4 separate regions of the Homo sapiens genome follow, and all the other regions are linked to region 1. Evidence: promoter capture Hi-C in human tissues and cell types (Jung and others, 2019). All regions are on one chromosome and are shown on one strand. The core of a region is centred on a gene start or on the middle of the fragment in contact, and the rest is flanking DNA. Distances in the headings are between cores, read along the strand shown. Region 1 holds the start of HAO1 (hydroxyacid oxidase 1). Region 2 overlaps PLCB1 (phospholipase C beta 1). Region 3 has its middle 5.5 kb from the start of PLCB1. Region 4 has its middle 170 kb from the start of HAO1.

Evidence for each region. Contacts are between HindIII fragments. The study calls those that stand out against the background at their distance.
Region 2: a contact is called between a fragment that was not itself captured here and the fragment with the promoter of HAO1 in region 1, in 1 of the 25 tissues and cell types used here (small bowel).
Region 3: a fragment that was not itself captured here is called in contact with the fragment with the promoter of HAO1 in region 1 in 3 of the 25 tissues and cell types used here (IMR-90 fibroblasts, hippocampus and mesenchymal stem cells).
Region 4: a fragment that was not itself captured here is called in contact with the fragment with the promoter of HAO1 in region 1 in 1 of the 25 tissues and cell types used here (liver).

Annotation. Positions count from the first base shown.
Region 1 is chr20:7,939,131-7,941,770 of GRCh38, reverse strand. HAO1 (hydroxyacid oxidase 1) reads left to right here and starts at 1,313. Exons shown (of 8, transcript NM_017545.3): 1 at 1,313-1,485. The coding sequence starts at 1,349. The HindIII fragment of the contact is 11,188 bases long and covers 1-2,640 here.
Region 2 is chr20:8,141,969-8,144,608 of GRCh38, reverse strand. All of the region lies in intron 1 of PLCB1 (phospholipase C beta 1), which reads right to left. Among named protein-coding and RNA genes, the nearest start is that of PLCB1, 11 kb to the right of the region's middle. The HindIII fragment of the contact is 8,300 bases long and covers 1-2,640 here.
Region 3 is chr20:8,125,423-8,128,062 of GRCh38, reverse strand. No RefSeq gene overlaps it. Among named protein-coding and RNA genes, the nearest start is that of PLCB1, 5.5 kb to the left of the region's middle. The HindIII fragment of the contact is 5,756 bases long and covers 1-2,640 here.
Region 4 is chr20:7,770,913-7,773,552 of GRCh38, reverse strand. No RefSeq gene overlaps it. Among named protein-coding and RNA genes, the nearest start is that of HAO1, 170 kb to the left of the region's middle. The HindIII fragment of the contact is 5,580 bases long and covers 1-2,640 here.

The DNA.
Region 1 (2,640 bases), core at 64-2,563:
TAAGTGAAATAAGCCAGGCACAAAAGGGAAATTATTGCATTATTTCACTTATAGGTGGGATTTTGTTTTAAAAAAGACTTCAAATGCACAGAGCTAGAGAATGAAACAGTGAATACCACTAGTGGGAAGCAGGGAAGAGGAAAAGGGGTGATATAGGTCAAAGGATACAAAATAGTAGACACGTAGGATACATAAATCTACAACAGGGTCCCTAACCTTTTCGGCACCAGGGACAAGTTTTGTGGAATACAATTTTTCCATGGGCAGTGGGGGTAGGTGGATGGTTTTGGAATGAAACTGTTCCACCTCAGATCATCAGGCATTAGATTCTCATAAGGAGTGGCGCAACCTAGATCCCTCGCATGTGCAGTTCACAATAGGAGGCGGAGCTCAGTCTGTAAAGCTTGCTCACCGGCTGCTCACCTCCTGCTGTGCAGCTTGGTTCCTAACAGGCCACGGACCAGTACCAGTCCATGCTGGGGAGTTTGGGACCCCTGGTCTAGAGAGCAAACGTGCAAAATGAGGACTAAAGTTAATAAAATTGTATCATATTAGGAATTTTTGTTAAATAAGTTGATTTTAGCTGTTCTTGTCATACACACAAAAAAGTAATTACGGGTGAGATGATACATATATTATATTGGCCTCCCTACTGTAACCATTTTTCTGTGTATATGTATCTCATAATATCATGTTGTAAACCTCAAATATACAGAATGAATAAAACAATTAGCTGTCAATTTGGCCTTAATGTTCCATGTTAAAGCCAAATGTCTATGTTTGTAATCAGCTAAATTTTATATTGTGCAGAAGCCCTGAATTTCACGGATGCCCCATATTTCATGGATGCCCCGTTCAGTTCATAAGCTCTTGTTTACATGATTTGTGCATGATCCAAATGTGGAAAGAAAATGAGTGGGCAGCCTATTCTGGGTATCAAGCAAAGAGCACAGGCACAGACCATGTGCAATAAGCAGCCTTAGGCAAAACTGAACCAAGAGTGGTTTCATACAGGTATTCCTCTAAGTCTTTAATTTTTTACTTATTCCTTTCCCCTTTTTAATGTGATAGACACCTAATCACCTTCTGCTGCCTTCCCAACCTCAACTTTGGTGTTCTTTGGCAGATAGTGACTTCGGTGTTCTTTGGCAGATAGCCTACAAATGAAATTTCAAAGGCTAAGCATATAATGTTTGCTCACTTGATGTAAGCAACAGAGAACTAAATCTGAACTTTGGCAAAAGTCTATTAATAATTGACAAATAACAGAACAGTGAGGATGTAGAAAGCAATACATTAAAAAAAAAAAAACAACGAACTCCATCTGGGATAGCAATAACCTGTGAAAATGCTCCCCCGGCTAATTTGTATCAATGATTATGAACAACATGCTAAATCAGTACTTCCAAAGTCTATATATGACTATTACAGGTCTGGGGCAAATGATGAAGAAACTTTGGCTGATAATATTGCAGCATTTTCCAGGTAAGAAAATTTATTTTTTAAAATCATGTTTTAAAATTACACAAAGACCGTACCAAAATAAGATCTCCTAGTTTTACGTTGGTGGTGTGTAATTATTTGTTCAGATTTGTGCTTAGTAGAGAGGGAAAAGTTCTTGGGGCTGTAAGAAATCTTGGGCCTTTAAATTGTTAAAAAATATTCCAAGCCTGTGAATCTTGAGGAACTGACTGCAAAAGCCAAACCTATGTTACTTCACTTGGAAATATGACAACAATTAATTTAACTACATGTAAAAATAGCGATAAATTCGGATGACTTTTCTTTTTCTTAGTATGACAGTAAATGCTTATGTTCATGGTGTAGGAAACAGCATTAAATGCCAGATAACCATCTTATCCGGATGAACCAGACTGGATTGTTGGCTCAAATGTTTTCTTCCTGCTGGCTTTTCGTGTTATCATTCATTTTGATTACTGTTGTCTAAACTTTCACTTTAGATTTCAATTTGTCTATGCAGCATTAATCTTTCAACTTTGCTGTTTCATCTCTCCTTCAAAGCACTTCATCTCTCTTCCCAAATTAGTTTTCCTTTGACTTTCATATTTCAAAGCACAAGATGGTGGGTGACATGGTTTATGTTTTCTGTTTGTAATAAAAACAAGAAATAAAATCATTTCAAAGGGTTTTTTTTTATAGCAGTTACAAAAATGGTTTATTTGCTGGAGCAAGAGAGGAGTGCCTTCACTACACTACACTCAGTCTCATCCATCTAACATTATGGCTGTTAGTAAAGGCAATCGGTATTGTGGGTACTCATTGATGGTGATAAAGACAAAAAGGCAGAAAATATGCAGGGGGAGAGAATTAGCCTTCCTCCCTGATTTCTTCTTTAGTCTACAACAAAATCACTCAAAATCAGTTTTCCATATTTAAATTAGGAGAAATAAAATTATCCTGGCCAAGGTGGTCTCTGGTAGGCAGCACTGATTCACCCACAAATCCATGTAGAAGACTGAAAATGGCAATGGGGTGAAGGATACGGCCTCTCCCCAACCCTTTCAAGCCTTGACTTTGTCTCAGGTTTTGCCTGGAACCCAAATGAGCTCAACAAATGCCAGGGAAGTCATGGGAAGGGAAGTTGACTGAGAGTAGAGGGGCTTAAAATTCTGCATCATT
Region 2 (2,640 bases), core at 62-2,561, 200 kb before region 1:
GAGGAATTAAGATCATTGGAGTAAAACATCCACGTGTATCAGCATTGATGAGACTTTTCCTCCAGGAGTGTCTCTACTCTGAAATTTCCCAAAATAAAGAAAAGCAGAAGAGATGAAGAAGGTCCAGAGTAGAGGGTGCAAAACAGTGGAGAGAAGCAATGTGAAGATACTGGCTTCCTACAGAACAAGCAGAAAAATCCCTTTTAACACAATGTAGGGAAATGTTGGAAGAATTGTTCTTCAAGTGTCGTGCAAGATCCTTCAGATAATCCACGAGAGAACCAAATTAAAGCCCAGATCCCAAATCAACCGAGGTGCTCCTGGCTTAGTGGGGGCATCAGATGAGAAAAACCAATAATTTCAGTAACATATAGCTCTGGTGGGTATGCAGTGGCACCTCAATGTGTTTTTTAATTTGCATTTCTCCAATGACTAATGATGTTAAACATCTTTTCATGTACTTATTGGCCTTTGGGGTGGCGGGGAGGGCAGTGAACTGGCCGGATACTTTTAAAAGCATAGTATATCATTTATCATTTTCATCAGTGGTTCTCAACTGGGAGCAATTTTGCACCCCAGGGGACTTTTGGCTATGTCTGGAGACAATTTTGGTTGTCACTACTGGGAGGCTTTGCAACTGACACCCAGTATCTAGAGCGAGGGATACTGCTAAATATCGTATAATACACAGGCCAGACTCCACAACAAAAAACTACTGGGACCAAATGTCAATGGTGCCAGGGTTGAAAACATGGTTTTAATGGTTTCTGGTTGACTTTATACGTCTAAAATCCTGCAAGGACCTACGCAGTATATATGCAGGCCCTTGCCATCCAACCACATTATCTGAGCCACACTCTCCTGTGCTAATTCTGCTTCTCTCCTTCAAAATCTTGTGTTCCTTGGCTCTTTGGAATACCCACACCTGCTGTTCCCTCCACCTGACACATTCTTCTACTCATGCTGGCCTAAATCCCACTTGTCATAAATAGAATTTTCCAGGGAAACCTTCCATGCTTCCTATACTCACTTGTACTTTTTTTCCTTCATAGCAGTTATAATGAAAATAATTGTACCTCTATTTGCTTAGCATCTGTCTCCGCAATAAGGGCAGGCATGAAATCATTAATCATCATCAATCCACAACACTAGCACAATGCTTAAAAGAGACATCAGTACATTTTTAAAGTATGACTGGTGAATGAATGGATGAAGGGGTGGAAGGTACTGCAGCAAATAAAAACAAGGAAGATTCTGAAAAACATCAGTTGGGGTTGCTGGGAGCCATGTTGCCCACAGCCATGATAAAGAAATTTCAAAGTAGTGGTGAGGGCAGAAAAAGACTTTGGAAGGCTGAGAAGAAGTAGGTAGGAGGTAAGGACAGGGAGACAGTGACTATAAGTTACACTTGCATAGTAGAGGGAAGGAGATGAAGAAGAAGACGGTAACTAAAGGAGGAAAAGGGACTGGGGAACATTGTGTTGGTTTTGAGGTTGGGATTTTTACTAGTAAAGGCATATTGCTATGTTCTTAGGAAAGCTTCAACTGAGGGGAAACTCATATAGACACTGTTAAAAGAAAGGGGAGTGGTGTCAGATAATAATGAAGTCAGGATTCAGAGATGCCAGGAAGGTCGAGCTCCAAAATATAAATGCAGAAGGTGAGGTATTTCTCAGGGGCAGGAGGGCAGCTGGAATAATGGAGGTGGCCCAAGTACATTAAACGAGGAGTGGAGAAAGGAGGAAATTAAAAGCATTGTTCCAGGGACTTCCATTGCCTCTGTACACAAAGAATAGTGTAGGTGGAAGTTCATTATAAATCAGATTTAGAACTATGTCTTGTTACTTTTCTCACTTTAGCAATAAAGCACAAGTATTCTTTTTTCTCTTTGTGAATCATTATCGTGATAGGATGTTTTCACAACCATGCATCTTTTGTTCTGTCACTCCCAACGCTTCTGAATTTCTTTAAGGGCTTTTCATTGCAATATTTGGGTGTATGGGTGAGCATATTTTTCAGAAAATAGGAACTAATGGTAAAATTTAGAATATGAGAAATAAATACATTAAGCATCATCACCTTCAACCAATATTGAATTGCAGTGTAGTATACACTCAATCTTAAGACATATTTGGACCTTAAATGAAATCAGCACTGTAACAGCAGTGAGCTCTGCATTGCCAATAAATAGTTTCCTTCTCAAACACACATGGAGAAATCCCATTTAAGAAGGTCACAGAGTCCCTTAGGACCCTAGGAGATTTCAGATGGAATGGAAGGACAAGGAGCAAGGTGTTCCAACCAATGTAACACAACACCTCAAAGGTCACGAAGGTCTCATAGGAGCATGACTGCCCTCCAGGTCTGCCTCAAGGCTGCACACTCCCCTGTGTGAACCCACTGTGAGCCAGACAAACACCAGACAGTTCCTTCATTCCACAAATATCCCCTGAGCATCAGCACCTCCCAGTGCCAGGCCTATGCTCTCCCCTAGGGAAAAAAATAATAATGATAATTATAAAGCTATAGCCCTCCAGAAGTCCTGCTCTAGTTGTAATATAAACAAGGCCTATCTACCTCCCTGCACAAGTAATATAGATCTGGCCTCTCAGTTGACACTGTCTTGCATTCTGCATCGTG
Region 3 (2,640 bases), core at 85-2,584, 190 kb before region 1:
TTGTCAGCTCATAACTCACTTGAGGCCTGCCACAGTGGGAAGGACAGTGTTTTGATTTGAATAGACATATCTTTTAACAGCCAGTTCTACCAATTACTACGTACGTAACCGTGGGAAAGTCTCTTATCTCTTCTGAAATACAAGGTCCTAATATGTAAATGGAGAAATAATAATAATGTCAAAGCTTTTTATGTCACATACTCTTCTCAGGGTTTTACATTTTTAATGCATTCACTGTCATATTAACCCCTAGGAGCCGGGTTACTATTATCTCCACTTTATAGCTGGGTAATCTGAGTCAGAGAAGTGTTAAGTAGTTGTTCAACATTTTCCAGCTAGTAAGTGAGTGAACCAGAATTTAAACTAGGCAGTTTGACCCCAGAGCCTACATATTTAACCACCACAGTAAGCTGTCTTAAAGAGGTATTGCAAAGATTAAATGAAATCATATATCTAAGTCCCTGTCACAGCGGTAATCAATAGTAGTTAACACACATATGGTTATTCTGAAATTCTACTATATTCCCTTTCTATGCCCTAAATAACTCTTTTAGTCTTAAAAGACAGCATTCTAATTCTGTGGTCTGTGATTTAGTAAACTTCTTTTTGGCTGCATTGATTCTATAAACTTTAATCATATTCATTTTTGTCTCTAACCTTCTAGAACTGAAAAGCTCTTTTCCATCATGAATAAATGAGTTCTAATTGCATCTAAGAATCAGGGCTCCTTTAACTCACCTTTTTTGATATAAGAGAGATATGGAGAAAAACTACCCAGAACCAGCTTTATAATAACCACATCTGGGTTACAGTCAGTAGCCTTTGGCAGGTCAAACCCTCCCATATGTGCTGATCCATGCTCTTCCCTGCCTGGCTGGCCAGAATGAAAGTGATCCTGGTGGTGACCTTGGAAGCCACGCACTGAAGAAGGCAGAGCTTCTGTTAGTTTGAGTCCCTGATTAACTCCATGGAAAAAGGTCACCCTGATGACTTGTTCCCCTGCCCAGTAAATTATGTGAACAAGAGGCACACTTATAAAGTATTAGAGCCAAGAATTAAATGCCTTTGGCATCATTATTTTCATTACTTTTCACATTAATATAAGAGATAAGGCTTACACCTCTTGAATGGTAAATAAGAAAATGCATCATGATGAAATTGCCAGCTTCTGACTCAGTGAGTTCTGTTATCAAGTAAAACACTGACAGAGGCAGAGTCTCAAAGGAAGACAACTTAAAATTATCACCCACACATTGAGAAGAACATCTTCCTTAGAAGCTCTTATTTGAACCCTTTCTTGATAGCACAGTACGTTTCTCTAAATTCTATCACACAAAAGAAAAAAGCCTTCAGATTGCTTTAGTTATGCTACAAAAATGGTGAGGTTTTTTTTTTCTTTTTGAAAAACAAGACAAATGACCTTCTGTTCATTTAAGCTCTACTTTATGCTTCATATAAAGCAAAGGCTTTCATTGAAATCTGGCTGATCGCCTTAAACGCAATTTCAGAAAAAGAATTTGGAAGCTCAGATCCAAAAAATGTTTAAGGAGAGACACTCTCAGCACAATCCAGATTTCATGGAAAATGCAGGTGTTTGCAGAGAAGACTGCGGAAATGATGCCTCAGGATGGCAAGAAGCACCCACCTCACCCTATTTCCTTCTCCGTCATCTCTGGGCCCTCAGATATAGTGACTGAGACACACCAGTGTAAATATATAATCTTCATGAGTCAGTTTATCTTCCAGATATGTATCTTCCCTGTTCTATAAAAATAAACACCAGCATACCCCCAATTCTCTCTCACTTCAGATAAAATCACTGAGCTTTAGGTCTCTAATGATATCTATTGTTGTAAGCAACAGGATTTAAAGGAAGTTTCATTTTATTTTCACCTCAGGGCACTGTAAACAGATTTGCATTTTAAAAAACATCTTTTTGCCTTTCAATTTGTTTGGGGTAAAAATCCTCTTCCAAATTTTGCTGGAGTTAAATTCCACACTTCAGTGCCTCCCTTTTGTATACAAAGACTTCAACCACCATTACCGATACAGTGACAACTATAAAATATGAATAATCACCTTTTCACATTTTTGTAGAAATTTTAACAAAGAACAACATGATTTTGCTTCATCAAGATTTCTCTTTCTAGTATTCCCTCATTTCACTGTAGTGGCACCATCTTAGGAAACTAAAAGCAAACTCTTTGACTTTTTTATTGGTTATAACTATTCCTATTATTCTTTATAGCATACAAAGGAGGGGGTAAAGTCACTTTTCAAAGGAGCTGTGTTAGAGATTTCTAGTTGCCATCCAATATCTATTTTCCTAGTGTCCATCAGTAGCAGGACTCCCAATTTGAAGTCACAATGTGTTTTGTTCACCTTCCCCCTTCCTCCTTCCTGTGGCCTGGAATGGCCACTCAAGGGCTGAAGTTCCAGCTAGGAGGTGACCTTGAGCGTGAAAGCCAGGAGCTAGACTAGTAGAGAAGAAAGAAATCCTTGGGTCTCCAAACCACCACACCATCCTGGATCATCTAGATTTTAAATGACAGAAAAAAAGTTCCTAGCTTGTTTAAACCCCTATAATTTAGCGATTTCCATCCTATGCAACCACAATCAACTCTCACTGACATAGCGGCA
Region 4 (2,640 bases), core at 89-2,588, 170 kb after region 1:
ACTTTCTTTCCTACTCTCCTCTATTCCTACGGATGCATTTTCAGTTTACTCTCCAACTACTTTCCATTTTCCATTTGCATTATTAAAATACAATCTACAATTCTGTATCTGAAACCCGTGGGCCCAGATGTATTTTAGAATTTTTTTTGTCCTTGAGAAATATCCCATGTATTAGTGAGGTCTGAGTCAAGGCAATACAATACTCCATATTCAAACACATTAATATTTCTGCAGTGAAACTAAGTGGGATAAATATTACAAAAAACAAACAAACATAAACCTTGTCAGTGAAGGTCAGCTTTTGCCATGAATAAGTTACCGAAACCTTGAGGTTTCAAACTGTTGATACTTGTGAATTGCAGATAAGAGATTGCCTCAATAACTAGCCTTATTTCTTGCCCTCAATATAACTTTCTGTTTCAAAGAATATTTCAAAGATGCGCATTTATTTATGAATAAATGGACATGAAGGGAAATATCATGATGGACAAAACAAAGAATGGGTACAGAGAAAGAAGGCCATCAGTCTGCAGGCTGAGTAAAATTTACTAAGTATCACTCTTTAATTTGGAGTGTTGTTATGATATGGAGGAACTGCTGACAACTTATTTCAGTCTCAGGTGTTTAAATACCCTACATATATTTGGGGGGCAAGTTGTTGAGATATTTTCCTTAAAAATCTTATACCATCTCTATTGGTGATGGTGAATTTTCTTGCATATTCTCAATACTCTGTGTATTGGCTATCTCTCTATTTCTTATCATTCTCTCCATTACCTATCTGTCTTCAATCTTATCACATCCTGTGTTAGTTGTATTTATTACCTGTGTTAGTTGTATTATTATTGCTGTGTAACAAATAACAAAAACACCTCAGTGTCATATGACAATTTGGGTTTATTGCTCACATGTCTGGAGTCATCTGGGAGTTGGCCGGGTGACTCTGCTGAACTATGCTTAACTTACATGTCTGGGCTTGCCTGGTTGTTGGCTGATCTAGACTCTTGGCTCAGGCAACTGTGCAGCTGGAGCAGCTTGGCTCTACTTCCTATGTATTCATTCTCCAACATGCTATCTCAAGCATTTTCTCATGGCAATGGCGGAGGCATAGTAAAGCAAGCCCCAGTGAACAAGCCCATTTCTAGATTCTGCTTGTGTCACACCTGCTAACACTCCATTGGCCTAAGCAAGTCATATGATTGAGCCGAAGTGAAGGGACAAATCACCCCATCCCCAGGTCGGTGGCCCAGAAATGTTACATGGCAAAGGATGTGGATACAGAGAGAAATGAAGAATTGTAAGAATCCTCACAGTCTTCAACTCTTCTCTCCTCTGGACTTCCTTGCTTAACCTCTGATACAGTTTGATATGGTCACAATTTATTTCTTTCTGTTTACAGTTCACTCCATGCAACCTCTGTCCTGGCAATCTTGAATTATTTCCCGCTCCTATATACACACCATGATTGTCTATGCTGTTCCCTTTGCTTATGGTGTTTTCTCCTCTCCCAATTTAATCCTTCAAAGTCTGGCTGAAATAATAAAGTGTACATGAATCTTTCCCCGTGTATGATAACTCTTTGTATGCAATGCCCTGTACTAACCAACAAACTGAAGGTAGGGTCAGTGCCTGCTTCATCTCAGTATTACCCACTATGCCTTGAACAAATAGGGTCATGAAAAGAGCATGGCTCACTTCATAAATAGAAGGCCCTACCAAAAGTTTATCATAGAGGAAAAGATTAGTAAAAATGTAAACTGTATGGAAAAATTTTCACTTCTTTTATGAGTTTAAAAAAAAGAAGAAAATCAGCAGAAGAGAATATATTTTACTGTTTAGTTAGGGCTTAGATCATAGCCCACATGGCATTGGGCATAAGGGTGGGAATATCATATTTTGTGAAGCCACTACAACTTGTATTCAAATTCTGAAATGATTTCACTTGATTATTTGTATAAACTGAGGTAGGTTATGGATGTTCTAAGGACTTATTTTTTCTTTTCATACATTTATTGTGAGAATTAAATGGGACTTTTAATTATGTCCCATTATATTATTTATAACTAAAATGTACATATATAAATTATGTAGGGCAACTGACATTATAGGCATTGAGAAATGTCAATTTTCATTTCCTTCTATTCGTTCGAAAGAAAGGAAGTTAAATAACACGATCAAGTAATAATTTAATCTTTTCTTTAGCAATTTCACACACTCAGTGTAACACACATTTACATTAATTTCCTATTCTTTACCAGCTCTCTGGAGAGTCCTGTGGCACACATACAGGGAAGAGTGAGGCACCTCAACCTCTGCACACCAATGATTTGTGACAATGGTGGTCAGCTCCTGTAACATCCTCTGTCTCAAGTATCTGTCTCATAGTCCAGATGGTTGGCAAAACATAATCTGAAAACCTACGAAGTTGCTTTTTATATCTGGAGATGGGCTGATGTTTGATGTCCTGATCTAGTACATCAAAATCTTGTGGAGAAACCACGAGTCTGTCTCTTGTCTGCATAGAATTCAAGTGGACTGCCCTTGGGCCAAAATGATTTTGCAGCTTCAGAAGCAAAAAAAGAAGAAAACTGACAGTGGCTCCAAAGTGACCCTAAACCCACTCTGTACCTTGTTCTGACA